3 separate regions of the Homo sapiens genome follow, and regions 1 and 3 are each linked to region 2. The links are contacts of gene promoters, found by promoter capture Hi-C in blood cells and fetal thymus (Javierre and others, 2016). All regions are on one chromosome and are shown on one strand. Each heading gives the region's core, a stretch centred on a gene start or on the middle of the fragment in contact. The rest is flanking DNA. Distances are from core to core; before and after follow the strand shown.

Region 1 (3,457 bases), core at 18-2,517, 220 kb after region 2:
TGCAAGTGAACTTGGCATTCAAAGAACAGAAGGAAGATAGCATTTGAGCACTACTAGTAATCTGCTAGGTACCCCAGGATATCTCCCAAGAAATTGGCAGCTTGCTCTGAGCTCAAATTTCTTGGCGGGGTTAATGACAATTTTCTACCTGTCCATATTACTGAATATCACTTGTTATGTGTTCCTTATTGCTACATTCCACTGCTTGTTGGCATCTTTGCTTCATTGTCTTGGCACTTTCAAGATGGCTCAATCCCATAGCTGGCAAGTTGGTGCTGATTGTCATATGGGAGCTCAGCTGTGGTTGTGGGTGTGAGTGGGGAGCTCGTTTCTCTCTCCATGGTCCTCTCCATGAAGAGCTGGAATCTTCACAGTTTGGTGGCTAGATTCCAAAAGTGAGCATTCCAAGAGAACCAGAAGGAAATTGCATTGCCTTTTATGACTTAGTTTTGGAGGTGGCATAACGTCACTAACACCATAGTTACAATTCCACCCAGATTCAAAGGAGAGGAACATAGACCTATGGAGAGGAGTCTCAATCCTACTGTAAGAATTTCATATGGGAACCTTGAAGACATTATGCTAAGTGAAGTAAGCCAGCCATTCTACTCGTATGAGGTGCCTGAAGTACTCAAATTAATAGAGACAAAAGTAGAATGATGGGTCCCATGGGCTGGGGGGAGGAGAGAATGGAGAGTTAGTGCTCAGTGGTATGGAATGTCAGTTTGGGAAGATGAAAAAGTTCTGGGAAAGATGGCAGTGATGGTTGCACAATGTGAATGTGCTTAATGCCACTGAGCTGTACATTTTTAAATGGTTAAAATGATACATTTTATGTTATGTGTATTTTGCCACTATATAAAAAAAGGTCATATGGAATGGGAAATGTTGTCACAGCCATTTTTGGAAAATACGAACTCCCACACACTTTTTGGGATAGTCTGTAGTAGGATGAATACATGGATATGAACATGGAAGCACAATATCCATGCTCACAGACTCCAAACTAAGACCCTCTACCCCTAATAAGGAAGGTCGGAAGGCTCAGCAGAGTCAGGGTTCTAAGGTTCTTACATTGCTTAGGAGAGACTCATCCCCATGCCAGGTGCTTCTCCAAGATTTCCACTCCCCTCTACCATTTGCCTGGTTTCTGTTACTCTTCAGAATCTCCCAGTAGTTTTTTCCTTCCTTTCCTCTCTTCCCTCCCTCCCTCCCTCTCCCCCCTCCCCCTCCTTCTTCTCTCTCTCTTTTTTTCTTTCTTGAGGAAGAGTCTCACTGTGTTACCCAGATTGGAGTGTGATGGCATGATCTCGGCTCATTGCAATCTCTGGCTCTTGGATTCAACCAATCCTCCCACCTCAGCCTCCCAAGTCGCTAGGAGTACAGGTGTGTACCATCAAACCCAGCTGATTTTTGTATTTTTAGTACAGATGGGGTTTTGTCATGTTGTGCAGGCTGGTCTCGAACTCCTGGCCTCAAGTGATCTGCCTGCCTTGGCCTCCCAAAGTGCTGGAATTACAGGCATGAGCTACCACGCCCAGCCCTGTTATTGTTTTTTAATCAGTGGGAGAATTATCTGAAAGGGTTTACACTACCATACTGGAAGCAGAACTCCTTAAAAAATTGAATTTGTAGTTAAAAACTTTCCCACAAAAACTTGGTCACTGAGAGGAATTACTACCAACTTTTCAGTATGTATATTAGTTTTCTATTGCTGCATAACAAATTACTGCAAATTCAACAGTTTCAAACAACAGACATTAAACATCTTGCAGTCCTGTAGGTCAGATGATAAGGCATACAGAGGCTGGGTTCTCTAGCCCAGAAATCTCACAAGGGGCCAGGATGGTGGCTCAGGCCTGTAATCCCAGCATTTTGGGAGGCTGTGGTGGGAGGCTCATTCGAGGCGAGGAATTTAAGACTAGCCTGGGCAACATAGTGAGAGCTTGCCTCTACAAAAAATAACTAGCCAGGCATGGTGCTACAGACCTGTAGTCGCAGCTACTCGGAAGACTGAGATAGGAGGATCACTTGAGCCCAGGAGGTCAAGGCTGCAGTGAGTTATGATTGTGCCACTGCATTCCAGCCTGGGCAACAGAGAGAGCCTATCTCAAAAAAAAAAAAAAAGTAGGCTGGGTGCAGTGGTTCACGCCTGTAATCCCAGCACTTTGGGAGGCTGAGGTGGGCAGATCGCTTGAGATCAGGAGTTCGAGACCATCCTGGCCAACGTGGTGAAACCCCATCTCTACTAAAAATACAAAATTAGCCGGGTGTGGTGACAGGCGCCTGTAATCCCAGCTACTCGGGAGACTGAGGCAGGAGAATCACTTGAACCTGGGAGCCAGAGGCTGCAATGAGCTGACATCGTGCCACTGCACTCCAGCCTGGGCAACAGAGCGAGACCCTGTCTCAGAAAAAAAAAGTCTCACAAGGCTGCAATGAAGGTAGCAGACAGCTGGGTTCTCATCAGAGCTCAGGAGCTCCTTCCAGGCTCATTCAGGTTTTTGGCAGAATTCAGTTACTTCTGGTTGTAGGACTGAGCTGCTCATTTTCTTGCTGTTGGCTGGGGGTTACTCTTAGCTCCAAGAGGCCACTCTTAGGTCCTTGCTAAGTATCCCCTTCCATCCTGGAGAACCTTCCTCCTATTGAATGCTTCTCACATTTTTAATATCTTTTGCCAGGAAAAGCCCTATCCTACTTAAGGACTCATCTGATTGGGTCAGGCCCATGGAGGATAATATCTTCAGCGTAAAAACAACTGATCTGGGAACTTAATTACCAAAATCCCTTTGTAGCAGCACCCAAATTCATGTTTGATTAACTAACTGGGAAAAGGTATGTGTGTACCAGGGGCCAGGAATCTTAGAGGCCATCTTAGAATTCGGCTTACCACAGTATGCCAGTTAGATTTCATTTATGTCTGTATTTTAAGAGCTTCACCTTCTAAAGTACATAATAAGATATGGATAGTTATAGTATAACTATATTTATAGTTTGCCCCAAAATAATCTGGGGTATAGATGAAACAAGATTGATCCACGTTGATATTGCTGAAGGTGGAAAATGAGTGTTCATTACTTTATTCTCCCTACTTTTGCTAATGTATGAATTTTGGGCCAGGCACCATTGCTCATGCCTGTAATCCCAGCACTCTGGGAGGCCAAGGCAGGAGGGTCACTTGAGCTCAGGAGTTTGAGACCAGCCTGGGAAAGATGGCGAAGCCCCGTCTCTGAAAAAAAAATAAAAAATAAATTTTGTCAGATAAATTATTCCAGAGCATAGAAACATTTTTTAAAACTGTCAACTATGTGTGTGTTGGTGGGATTTTGAGGGACAAGGTCTTGGTCTGTCACCCAGGCTGGAGTGCAGCAGTGAGATCATAGTTCACTGTAACCTTGAACTCCTGGGCTCAAGTGATTCTCCTGCCTGAGTCTTTATTTTTATAGAGACAAGGTCT
Region 2 (3,601 bases), core at 281-2,780:
AAAAAACCCAGCTCTAGTAAAATTGTAATTTACAATTGTGATAACACTGTATAGAACAAAACACACAAGTATAAGTAACATTTGGGAAATCTGCATTAGATCAGCAGGTTACATCCCTGTCAATATGCTGGTTGTGATATTGTACTATAGTTCTGCAAGATGTTACCATTGGGGAAAACTGGGTAGAGGTGGGATCTCTGTATCATTTCTTTTTTTTTTTTTTTTTCTTGAGACGGAGTCTCACTCTGTCACCAGGCTGGAGTGCCGCGGCCCGATCTTGGCTCACTGTAACTTCTGCCTCCCGGGTTCAAGCGATTCTCCTGCCTCAGCCTCTCGAGTAGCTGGGACTACAGGCACATGCCACATGCCCGGCTAATTGTTGTATTTTTAGTAAAGACGGAGTTTCACCATGTTGGCCAGGATGGTCTCAATCTCTTGACCTCATGATCTGCCCGCCTCGGCCTCTCAAAGTGTTGGGATTACAGGCGTGAGCCACCGCGCCCGGCCTATATTTTCTTATAACTGCATGTGAATCTGCAAGTATCTATATAACATTTTCGATTAAAAGAAAAAGCAATTCTGAAGGAGTTGAGATCCATGAGAATTTACCATTTCATGTTAAACCATTTTTCATTAAGATTACATTATAAACATTTCCCCGTGTTTCTACAGACCTTGCAATAATCACTTACTGGCTACACGGCATTCCATCTAGTGGGTGTAAAACCGTTCCCTTAACCATTCTCCCTTGCTAGGTGGCGAGGTTGTTTTCAATTTTTAGCTCACACTAATAATGCCATAATGAACATGATTATGCCTAGGGCACGGTTATTCCTTTGAATTATTTCATTAGGATACATTCCCAGGGAGTGGGGTGCCTGGGCATAAGGTTCTGGACCTTTATGACTGTATTAGGTATTATTAATTTAATATTATATCCTTATTATTGCCCTTTCTAAGGTACAGATCGGCTTTTCCCCAAGTGAGCAAAAGTTCTCTGGCGCGCCTTTCAGCATTCAGATTTGTGGGGGAAAACCTAGGGGCCCCCCACTTGTTTCCGCCTGCACAGTGTCAGGCCAGAGATTTGAGTGGCAGAATGACAGAGGCAGCAGAGTGCAGCTAGAGGAGCTGTCACGGGCGTCACCCTCCCACGGGGCCCGGGCGGGCGTCCGGGGACCTCCTGGGACTCGGTGGCGCCGGCTACCTTCTCCCCAGAGCAGCAGAGGCCGTGAGGGGCCCTGCGGGGCCATGAGGGCGCGCGGCTTTCTTGAAAACAGAGCAGCCTCTGCTCACCCTGCAGGCGCTCTGGAGCTGCAGGAGGCCATTTCTAGAAGGCACCGGATTCGGCCTAATGCGGTGGCGAGGCCGCTGCGTCCCTCGGAGCCCGGTGGGGAGGCCCTGGGTGCCGCGCCCCAAGGCTCGCGGGCGATTGCCGCCCGTGAGGCGCCGCCGGGGAAGTCCGGAGCCCTGGCGTCCCCAAAGCCGTCCGCGGCTCTGCGTCCCAGTCCCGGGCGAGCGCCGCGCAGAGGCCCGAGGACCCCACGCCTGGGTGGGGAAGGCGCGGCCTCGCCATCTTGCTGGGCCACGGGCGCTCGGCGCAGGCGTGCGCGCTTGTGCAGTGTTCACCTCTTTTGGGATTTTATTCTCGTTTCATTTAATTTAACTCATTTAAAAAATTTTTTTTATTTTACTTTTTCTTTCATTTTAGTTTTGTTTTAAATTTTATTAATTTCATTAAATTTAAATTTTGTTAATTTAATTTTAATTTTAGGTGGTTTTTTTTTTCAGTTTGGATTGCCAGGTTAAATGTAGGAGGTCCAGTTAAATTCAAATTTCAGATAAGCAACAGATACATTTTTAGTATACATCTATCCTGTTTAGGATGTCCTATTTAGTATCAGAATGTCTCCAACGTTTTGTCCTGGTTTTTTGTTTGTTTGTTTGTTTGTTTTTTGCGACAAGGACTTGCTTTGTTGCCCAGGCTGGGGTGCAGTGGCACAATCATAGTTCACTGCAGCCTCCAACTCCTGGACTCAAGAGATCTTCCTGCCTCAGCCTCCAGAATAGATGTACACCACTACACTCAGCTAATGTTTGTATTTTTTGTAGAGCTGGGGGGCGTCTCGCTATTTTGCCCAAGCTGGTCTCGAACTCCTGGGCTCAAGTGATTCTCCTGCCTTGGTCTCCCAAAGTGCTGGGATTCCAGGCATGAGCCACCACTCCTGGCCTGGCCTGTATTTTTATTTGCTAAATCTGGCAACTCAATTTGTGGTAGAACCCCTTCTTTGGAGGACATCTGACTCAGAACCCTAATACCTACCCAATGACAGCGAGTGGTCTGTGTGAACTGGGGCCAGGACTAGGGGGTGCAGGAATGTGAGTGTCACCCAGTGTCTCCCAGACTGGCCTGAGGAACCCCCTGAGCAGAACCGAACCACTGAACCTCTCTTACAGGGGCTGAACTCCCCGAGGGCAAGACAGCAACAGCCGCACCAGGTAGACTCTGTACATTGGATTATTCCAGCCATGGCTGGCTCCTGTCCTCTCAAAAGTCCCTCACGGGCCGGGCACAGTGGCTCACGCCTGTACTTCCAGCACTTTGAGAGGCCTCACTTGAGGCCAGGAGTTCAAGACCAGCCTGCCCAACATGGCAAAACCCTGGCTAATACAAAAAATTAGCCAGGCATGGTGGCACACACCTGTAATCCCACCTACTTGGAGAGGCTGAGGCACAAGAATAGCTTGAACCTGGGAGGTGGAGGTTGCAGTGAACCAAGATCGTGCCACTGCACTCCAGCCTGGGCAACAGAGCGAGACTCTGTCTCAAAAAAAAAAAAAAAAAAAAAAAAATCCCTCAGGCCCATATCCTGTGAGCAACAAGCTCTGAAGGAGGGGCCCAGGTCTGCCACTATGGGATGTGGGCAAGTCACTGGCCTCAGTTTCTCCATCTGTGAAATGGGGCTGTTGTTTGGGCTGCTGGAGATAATCTATGTGAAAGTGCCTGGTGAACCTGGACACCCAGAGACTCTAAAGCATGCTTTTTACTGAGGCATAATTCACAAACAGTGACATTCCCCAATTTTAAGTATTGAACTCAGTGCATTTTGACTGATGTTTACAGTTGTGTGACCACCACAATTGCATATATATACATATACAAACATATATGTTGAAGAGTTGAAGGCCATAGCCCTTCTTTGAGGAATTCCGGGTCTGGTGGAGAAGCAGACCACGTGTACTTGACCACCACACACCTGTGTGAGCAGCAGCTCAGGAAGGAACACGGGGGCCAGCGAGGTATGCGGCCACTCTTCCGGCTGTAACGCCCTAGATAGAGCATTTAGTCTGGCCGCCTCTAACGCAGCCACATCAAGCCTTCAGTCCCACCCTTGCTGGGTCTGGAATACCCGGGCAAAGCCACATCCTCTTTCCTCTTTTATCTGGCAGAGGCTCATTCCTCTCCATGTTTCAAGGCCCAACTCAGATGCTACCTCCTCTGAGAAGCCACACCGATTTTCCTGGTGATTCTGGGACAGATTTGTGGCTCCTGCTCATTGGGCTTGGGACCTGCAGGTGGTGAGGGCTAGAGGGAGGCAGAATC
Region 3 (3,781 bases), core at 879-3,378, 240 kb after region 2:
ATGATGTTAACAGTAGTTAATTCTAATATGAATGGTTATTGTTTCCCCTTTGGTTTTATTCTTTATTTCCAAATATCTGAAAACAAATTCACTATTGCTCTTGCTCAAATAAAGATCACAAGAAAATTAAACAGACGTCATTAATATACATCGTTGTTATTCTGCTGTGTGATAACCAAATATAACCAGTGGTAATTAAGATGTCTCTTACTAAGTGAAATAAAACTTTTCATTTTCCTTCATCTTGCTCCTACTTATCCCAAATCAATTTTTCTTAATACCATAGTAATAGCTACCCTTTGTTGGTTGGGAGCTGTGGACCAAAGTTTCTAGAAGTGAAGGTGAAAGTGAAGTAATTGAGAATGCCTACTCCATGTGGGTTCAGTGTTCTTGGGATAAGAAGGCAGGATCATCTGTCAGGTTGCTGACTGCTATTGTAAAGATGATCTGGAATGAGGAAGAGGCACTAAGAAAGCTTCTTAAATTGCATACACATATCCTTTTGAAATTTATAAATGATATTAAGGTAAATGGAGAAACCATGACTTTCTTTCGGATTGTTTCCATTTGAACATTTCAGGGTACACGTCAGAGACAGAGAAATCAAAGTTAACATCTTTGATATGGCTGGACATCCCTTCTTCTATGAGGTAAGAAAGCCTTTTTGACAAAACCTATATCCAGTATTGTTGGTGGTTTGGGGAGAGATCCAGAATTATATGAAACAACCAATATTGATATCATGTGTAAAATTGCATAATTTTAGCTTGATCGTGGCTTGCCTTCAGAGCCTTGAGTTAATAGACAACTGTTGATCTTTTAGGTTATCCTGTTAAATAGTGGTAGGAAATTTCATTGCCAATATTTCAAACATTTCAATAAGACATTTTGACTTTCAGAGGACTTTTGCTTTTTACCTCATACTTTAGCCTAAAATGTGAAAAAAAAAATAATTACATTTATGCTTGGGCTTAAGAACTCAGTGATGCGACTTCTTTCACAGCAGGGTACTGGGGTGATCGTTCCTATTCATGCCTAGTCATCTGCATTCTTTCCAGAGAAGAAGCTAAAGCAACTACTTGATTTATTTTCATCTGCTTACCAGCTCTAAGTAATCACCAAATGAATCTCATGACCATTCTCTTTTGTTTTTCCTTCCTTGGGCTTTTTCATTTTTCTTAAGGAGGTTTTTTGCTCTTTTCTGGTTTGGCCGTTTCACTTCTGCCTTAATCTTTATCATTTCCTTCTCTCTGCTTGCTTTAAGCTTATTTTGCTCTTTTTGTTTTAGATTCTTGAGGTGGGATCTTAGATTATTGATTTGAGACTTTTTCCTTTTTTAATAAATTCATTTAATGCTACATATTTCCCTCTCAGCACAACTGTGTGTCCCACAAATTCTGAGATGTTGTATTTTCATTTTCATTCAGTTCAATGTATTTCTTTAATTTCCCTTGAGACTTTCTGTTTGATGTATGAGTTATTTAGAAGTGTGTTATTCAGGCCGGGAGCAGTAGCTCACGTCTGTAATCCCAGCACTTTGGGAGGCCGAGAAGGGTGGATCACCTGAGGTCAGGAATTCGAGACCAGCCTGGCCAACATGGGGAAACCCTGTCTCTACTAAAAACACAAAAATCAGCCGGGTGTGGTGGCACATCCCTGTAATCCCAGCTTCCTGGGAGGCTGAGGTAGGAGAATCGCTTGAACAGGCGGAGGTTGCAGGGATCCAAAATCGTGCCACTTCACTCCAGCCTGGGTGAAAGAGTGAAACTCCATCTCAAAAAAGAGAGTGTGTTATTCAAAAACAAACAAACAAACAAAAAACACAAAAAAAAACAAAAGAAAAAAAGTATGTTGTTTAGTTTCCAAGTGTTAGGAGATTTTCCTGTTAATCCTTCTGTTACTGATTTCTAGTTTGATTCCATTGTGATCAGAGGCTGCCTCGGTGATGATGGCTGCTGACTGATGAGGGTGGTGGTTGATGTGGCAGTTTCTTAAAATAAGACAACAATAAAGTTTGGCACATTGATTGACTCTTCCTTTCATGAAAGATTTCTCTGTACCATGCAATGCTATTTGACAGCATTTTCACCCACATTAGAACTTCATTCAAAATTGGAGTCAATTCAGTTAAACTCTGCTGCTGCCTTATCAACTAAGTTTATGTAATACTCTAAATTCTTGCTTGTCATTTCAAGAATGTTCATAGCATCTTCACTAGGAGTAGATTCCATCTCAAGAAACCACTTTCTTTGCTCATTGATATGAAGCAACTCCTTATTTATTTTTTATCGTGAGACTGCAGTAATTCAGTCACATCTTCAGGCCCTACTTCTAATTCTAGTTCTCTTCCTATTTCCACCACATCTGCAGTTACTTCCTCCACTGATGTCTTGAACTCCCACAGAGTTATCTGTAAGGGTTGGAATCAACTTCCAAACTCTTGTTAAGGTTGATACTTTGACCTCTCCCCTGAATCACGAATGTTCTTAATGGCATCTAGAATGGCGAATGCTTTCTACAAGGTTTTCAATTTGCTTTGCCTAGAGTAATCACTATGGCAGCTGTAGCCTTGCAAAATGTATTTTTTAAACAGTAAGACTTCAAAGTCAAAATTATTCCTTGATCCATGGGTTGCAGAATGGATGTTGTGTTAGCAGGCATAATAAAAACAGCTTTAATCTCTTCGTATTTCTCCATCAGAACTCTTGGGTAATTAGGTGCATTGTGAATGAGCAGTAATATTTTGAAAGGAATCCTTTTTTCTGAGTAGTAGGTCTCAGTAGTGGGCTTAAAATATTCAGTAAACTATGCTTAAACAGATCTGCTGTCATCCAGACCTTGCTGTTCCATTTATAGAGCACAGGCAGAGTAGATTTAGCATAATTCTTAAGGGCCCTAGGATTTTCATTATGGCAAATGAGCATCAGCTCATATAGCCCGTAACAGCTCTGTCAGCCCGTAACAAGAGAGTCAGCCTGTCCTTTGAAGCTTTTGAAGCCAGGCATCGACTTTTCCTCTCTAGCCTTGAAAGTCCTAGATATCATCTTCTTCCATTAGATCTATCTATTCCAAGCCTGTTTCATCTGCATTGAAAATCTGTTGCTTTGATTAGCCACCTTCATCAATGATCTTAGCTAGATATTTTGAATAACTTGCAGCACTACATCAGCATGTGCTGCTTCATGTTGCCCTTTTATGTTACGAAGATGGCTTCTTTCCCTAAACCTCATGAACCAACAACTGCTAGCTTCTGACTTTTCCTCTGCAGCTTCCTCATCTCTCTCAGCCTTCATGGAAATGAAGAGAGTTAGAGACTTGCTGTGCATTAGGTTTTGGCTTAAGAGAAGGTTGTGGCTGGTTTGGACTTCTATCCAGACCACTAACGCTTTCTCCATATCAGCAATATGCTGTCTCACTTTCTTAGCATTCATGTGTTCACTAGATTAGCATTTTTAATTTCATTCAAGAAGTTTTCCTTTGCATTCATAACTTGGCTAGCTGTTTGGTACAAAAGGCCCAGCTTTTGGCCTATCTGTTTTTGAAATGCCTTCCTCACTAAGCTTAATCATTTAAAGGTTTTGATTTAAAATGAGAGATACATGACTCTTCCTTTTACTTGAACACTTAGAGGCCGTTGTATTGTTATTAATTGGCCTACTTTCAATATTGTTTTGTCTCAGGGAAGAGGAAGGCTCCAGGAGTGGGAGAGAGATGGGGCAACAGCCATTTGGTGGAACAGTCAGAATATAGACAACATTTATTAAGTTTGCTGTCTTAAATG

Evidence for each region. The method cuts DNA at HindIII sites, captures the fragments that hold promoters and counts their contacts. A CHiCAGO score of 5 or more calls a contact.
Region 1: a fragment that was not itself captured here is called in contact with the fragment with the promoter of LINC01381 in region 2 in 8 of 17 cell types (M2 macrophages, M1 macrophages, M0 macrophages and 5 more); the score reaches 13.6 in M2 macrophages.
Region 3: a fragment that was not itself captured here is called in contact with the fragment with the promoter of LINC01381 in region 2 in 1 of 17 cell types (M2 macrophages); the score reaches 5.0 in M2 macrophages.

What each region holds. Positions count from the first base shown.
Region 1 is chr2:24,978,832-24,982,288 of GRCh38, reverse strand. All of the region lies in intron 1 of DNAJC27-AS1 (DNAJC27 antisense RNA 1), which reads right to left. Among named protein-coding and RNA genes, the nearest start is that of DNAJC27-AS1, 8.4 kb to the right of the region's middle. The HindIII fragment of the contact is 8,101 bases long and covers 1-3,457 here.
Region 2 is chr2:25,202,242-25,205,842 of GRCh38, reverse strand. It overlaps LINC01381 (long intergenic non-protein coding RNA 1381), which reads right to left and starts at 1,530. Exons shown (of 2, transcript NR_132378.1): 1 at 1,294-1,530. RefSeq lists a silencer at 1,193-1,532. The HindIII fragment of the contact is 10,460 bases long and covers 1-3,601 here.
Region 3 is chr2:24,960,274-24,964,054 of GRCh38, reverse strand. DNAJC27 (DnaJ heat shock protein family (Hsp40) member C27) reads left to right here. Exons shown (of 7, transcript NM_016544.3): 3 at 581-650. Among named protein-coding and RNA genes, the nearest start is that of DNAJC27, 9.8 kb to the left of the region's middle. The HindIII fragment of the contact is 1,724 bases long and covers 1,267-2,990 here.